Regions from separate parts of the Homo sapiens genome. Here region 1 is linked to region 2. Evidence: promoter capture Hi-C in 16 types of primary human blood cells and fetal thymus (Javierre and others, 2016). All regions are on one chromosome and are shown on one strand. The core of a region is centred on a gene start or on the middle of the fragment in contact, and the rest is flanking DNA. Distances in the headings are between cores, read along the strand shown.

Evidence for each region. Contacts are between HindIII fragments. The CHiCAGO score rates a contact against its expected background, and 5 or more counts as called.
Region 1: a contact is called between a fragment that was not itself captured here and the fragment with the promoter of SELENOK in region 2, in 1 of 17 cell types (M2 macrophages). The highest score is 7.3, in M2 macrophages.

What each region holds. Positions count from the first base shown.
Region 1 is chr3:53,698,219-53,700,918 of GRCh38, forward strand. The region is part of intron 8 of CACNA1D (calcium voltage-gated channel subunit alpha1 D); the gene reads left to right. Among named protein-coding and RNA genes, the nearest start is that of CHDH, 150 kb to the right of the region's middle. The HindIII fragment of the contact is 1,044 bases long and covers 753-1,796 here.
Region 2 is chr3:53,890,568-53,893,267 of GRCh38, forward strand. It overlaps SELENOK (selenoprotein K), which reads right to left and starts at 1,292. Exons shown (of 5, transcript NM_021237.5): 1 at 1,203-1,292. The coding sequence starts at 1,221. RefSeq lists enhancers at 480-1,380, 1,271-1,570. The HindIII fragment of the contact is 7,183 bases long and covers 592-2,700 here.

The DNA.
Region 1 (2,700 bases), core at 25-2,524, 190 kb before region 2:
AGAGGGTTCTTCTCTGTTCCGTGTTTCTGTGTCCCTCCTTCCACAGCGAGAACTCTGGCTCCCAGCAGCATTAGCACATGTACTCACTGGCTAAATCCTGTAATATGTCTAAGATAGTTTCAGAATGGTCTCATCCACATCACTGCAAAAAACAAAGCTACTGAAAAGAGTTCAGCATTTGTTTGTAGTTCATCCCTCACTCCAATCCTACCCAAGACTGAGAGTATGTCGTCAAATATTCATGAGCTATTTGAATTAGTTTTGTCTTTCTCCTTCAGTCTGGTTATGGTATTCATTTGAATTACAGATTTGTTTGTTTCAAATCACTTTCAGTTTAGGGGTATTTTCCCTTCATCTCATCCTTACTGACTTAATTTTTAAAAATTTAAGGTGAAGAACATTAACATGGTTCCCAAAGTCAAAACTATAGAAAAAGGTATACTTAAGAGTGTCACTCCAACCTTGATTCCTTTGGCCTAATTCATTCCCATCCCTTGTTTTCTGCTCTTTCTTTTAGATACACCTGAGAGAAATATGCTCCTTTTATTTCCCAGTTTTTCGTGTGTAAAGGGTAGCACACTTTATTGCTTTTTTTTTTTTTTTCATCCAGGCACTTCTTATTTATCTTTTGATCAGACACACCATAACCAAAATTCTGGTTTGGAACAAGAAGACTCCTAGCATATAACAGTTGTTGGATTTTTAGTCACTTGCAAAAGTCTGTTGGTTTCTACCAATAGCTTTATTAAATAAGCTTTGTAAAACAATCTCTTAGTAATAGGATTCTTAGAATATGATGAATTCTTATGCAAAGTGGAGTAACTTTTTTCCCATCATTGCAAAGTTTGATAGAAGGTGCCTCGGACTTGAGGTGTGATTTTCAGGATCAGAGGGTCAGTTGTGATGGGAATGGGTTATTCTCAACTGAGCAGATAGTGTACAGGATTGGCAGTGGGTTTGCCAGCTCATTGCGATCACTCTGAGCCTTGGGACCCATGTGTCCTTCTATGTGTCTCCCAATCCTAACGGGTTTGTGGCAGCTTAGAGCCCATTCACAGCTAGTGCTAATTTTTCTCCCTTTGATAATTTGAGAAAGCTCTTCCATTTGCCTTTTGAATGTCTCTCTTATGTCTGGATTCAACAACTATTATACATTTGAACTTCACGTTGATACCACTCTTTGTGTTTTCAAAGCCTTACTGAATGTCTTGCTTAATTCCTGTGAAACAGCGGAACAGGTATTGTTGTGTCTGTTTGGAAGTGAGGAAACTGAAGCTCAGAACACAGCAGTGACAGAGCTAGGACTAGAAGCCAGGTCTTCAGACGAAGAGCCCAGAGTGGTGTAGGAGGGCCAAGGATTTATCTGGGTTTATCACAGGGACTCTACCTCCCTGCCCCCTTCCTCCATCCTGCCCTGTGGCCAACAGATTTCTACTGTATAAACCTCACCTCTGTCCACATCAATAAATAATACCTTCCTGCTAAATATTCAGCCATTCAGAACTGTCTAAAATCAGTTCAGAGGGTCTATATCAGCAGCTTTGTTATATGAGCTTTTGTGATAGTGACCATCATTGTGAGTGGGCCATAAACCAGGACTTGGCAGGGTTTTTTACTCCTAGGAATTTTAGTCAGAGTAGAGTTTTACTTATGCCTGCTTACCTGTGTCCCAGCAGTGGAAAATGTACAACAGTGATGCAGCTTGTTAGAAATGGGATTTTTATATTTGTAATGTTAAAAAGGCATAAAATATTACAAAAGAAAATTAGGAAGATAGTAAAAGAGTTACCCTGAGAAGCTTAAGGACGTTCATTTTATAATGTATGTAATTATACATTATAAAATGTATATAATTATATAATTTAAAAATAAAATATAATTATATAATTATAATACATTATAAAATGTATATAATGTATGTAATTATGCATTATAAAATGAATGTCCTTAAGCTTCTCAGGGTAACTCTTTTACTATCTTCATAATTTTTTTCCCAAGAACCCATATATGATATGGACCCAAAGTAAGAATACCTTGTTTGTATGTAACCATCTGAATTTAGTATTCTAAGTTCGGAATCAAAACATGCAAACAGATTTGTACTAGGATACTTTTCTGGTGAATAATAGAACTGAAGGTCCACTTTTCTTTGAGATGTATTTAAGAAAACAGATTATATAATTCATTTTCCTGCAGATACATGACATGCCAAGCCCTCTTACTGTTGCTCAGGGATGTGATTCTGGATTGAGTTGTGATTTTTTCAGAGTTCAGAGAATCATTTGGTGAATTTACCTAGAGCTGAGTTATGTATTTCCCATGTGTCAGGAAACCCCGGAGGCCTAGAAACCCCAAACCATTCTCAGGGTGTGGTACATGTGAATGGCGAGACACTGGAGTCCTTACTTCTTTGAGACAGCAGGTGTTCTTTGGGCTGGGAGGTCAGAGCACGTGTCTGGGCTCAGATCGGCTCCTGCTCACTCTCTAGATCCACAAAGCCTGGCCTCCTTCCTTATTCACAGGGGGTGGAGTGGAGACTGACAGCCCTAACAGGACCAAGGATAGGTTCCAGGGAGTCTGGAAAGTGGGGTGATTTAGAAGCTATGAGAGGGATCCTTTCTTTTTCTTTTCTTTTTTTTTTCCTTTCTTTCTTTCTTTTTTATTTTTATTTTTATTTTTTTTGAGATGGAGTCTTGCTCC
Region 2 (2,700 bases), core at 42-2,541:
ACAACAAATACAAGGAATTATTCAATAATTCATACAGAAGCTTCCAGCCTTAAGCTTATATCACAAAGGCTATAAAACAGGCTATAAAACAGACTAAAGTCTGAAAGCGCCCAAAACTAAGATGAAATTTTGATGCTTTTCTGTAGTGTCCATCAATCTACTTGTTTCAAAGATTTTTAAGTGGGAGATGAGAAGGGGAGATTTTTAAAAGTCAAGAAATGCAAAAGTGCAGTCAGCCAGAAGGCTCCTCACTGACTACCTTACTCGTCTCTGGAGAAAAACAGATGACTCAAATAGAACCAAGACCTAGTTCCAATGATCCACAACTCCTTGTTAAGACTGTACCAAAGAATTTCACCTGAGTCAAACAGGTGGGCAGGCAGCTCTAGCACTGATCTGACACAGTCATGTCCTTCCTTTCCGGTCATCTTCTTTGTGGGTTCGCAGAATTAAGTCTCTCGGATTCTCCATTCCGGTAATAATTAACTTGCTCCTAGGGGAAGATAGTACTTCTTCCCATGCCCCTTGAAATTCGAGCAAAAAATTCCATGTTTGACTAGCTACCCTTTCCTGGGGAAAAAGCCTATGCAAAGCTTTCATCTAATTATCATCCTAGGTCGGCTCGGTCTTTTTACACGTTGTAGACAGAGGCAGCATAACAGATAACAAGGACGCTGACGTCAGCCTACCTGTGATCGAATCCCGACTCAGCCATTAAGTTACCTCTGTGACTTAAATAGCCCAGGCAAGCTATTTAATCTATCTGAGCCTCAGAGTTTCCACCCGTAAAACAGGATTGAATGTGACGATAAGCAAATAACTGAAACACTGTCCAGGGCACAAGCGCTACGTGTACAGCGTCGGCATCATTGTCCTTACTAGTTTTAAGGATACCGACACCCGAGAGAGGAAAGACCACCCTCGCAAATCCACAATCAAGCGCTTGCTGCACGAAGGCGGGGTTGCAGGGCTCCCAGTACTCAACGTGAGGCCGGCGGGACCTCGGCCCCCGACTGCCGGCTCAGAGACCATCGGCTGACGCGCCGCAAGCCGAGGCGACTTCGGTCCAGCTCCGCCCGGCCGCGGGGCGCTAAGCCCGGGGAAGCCGCACCGGGCTCAAGACTCAGCGAGCGACGATGAAAGGAACCTGGAGTCCGATCTTACAAGTCACCGGTCGAAGCCACAGCCCGCTCTCAACTTACCGTTCGAGATGTAAACCATCTTGTCCCACTTCCCCGCTTCGGAGCCACCGGGCGCCTGGCCCCTGTCGGTTTCTGTATCTCCCTCTGCTCCCCGCCCTTCGAGCGTCACAGGCCGCGATTAGACAAAATGCTGACGAGGACGAAGGTGGGCAGAGCCCATTGGCTGCTGAAAGAGACGCGCCCCCGACGGGCGTTTTTGCATCGTCACATCTGCGACTTCTGGTTAGGCGGAGGCGGCCGAGCTGACAACCGGATATGACGTTAAGGACTGCCCTGTAGTGCCCGCGGTTGCCAGTCCTCTATCCGACTTGATCGTGCAGAGTTGGTTCGCACCGCCCAGTGAGGGGAAGCTGTTTTCTCGTCGATTGATAGGCTCCGGGTCTGGGTAGGAGAGGCTGCCCTGTATGAGGTAGCTTGAAGGGCCGCTGACAGGAGGAAACGCTTCCGAATTTTCCAGACGTGTTGACGTTTGAGGGTGCTGACTACACGTTAAGGAACTTTATTGTCACGCCTTTGGGAATATACTGCCAGGCTCTTCCTAGATATATTCATTCTCTTTAAAATGAGCATGTCTACCTGGGTTCACCAGAAACTAAGTTTTTCTTAGCCTTTTGTGAGGCAACTGAAAAATAAATTGAACTGTAGGCCCTTTCTCTGCTTGTTTCTTATTGATGGCGACTGCTTATGACCACTTTGGTGACAGACGAATTAGAAGACATGTCTTGGACATTCAGTAAATGTGGACCACATACCATGGATATTTACTCTGCTACAGCCAGTGGGCTGCCTCTGTTCCTTGAACGTGGCCATTTCATTCCCTTCTCAAGGCCTCTGCACTTAGCTATTCTTTCAGCGTGGAGACCTAATGGCTGCTTCCTTTGACTTCCCGCCCCCAGTTCTCAAGCCATGTGTCATCTCTTTGGAAAGATTCCTAATCACCTTCCAGAAAATGAAAATTACATGCTGAAAATCTATTTTGAGTTTAACAACTTTGGTTAAGATTTTATGTTCTAATACTTAGAACTGACAAAGATCTAATTTTATGTTGATTTTGGAGAGAGCATTTTCCCCAGAAAAGTTCATAATAGGACAAGACAACATCCTTCACCTCATTTGGGATTTGTGCAGCACAATCATAAAGGATCATTTCTGCAAAAATATTAGGGCAGGGCCGTTAATTTTCCCAAGGGCCTTTCTTAATCTAGACCATGCCACCATCATCTCTCACCTGCTCTACGCTAGTTTCCTTCTAAATGAAATCTCAGGTTCAGTCTTTTACCATCCTTAGGCAGTTTTACAAACTGTAGCAAGATCGATCTTAAAACGGAGATCATCTCGTTCCCTTGCCTAAAACCTTTTGGACACTAAAATTTAGTGACTTCCTATTGCTCTTAAAATCCAGTTCCTTGTCATGGCCTGCAGGCCCAAGGTGACTTGTCCTCTTGATTGCTCCTCTCACTGTACTTCCAGCCACATCTCCCCACCCAGATTATGCTCT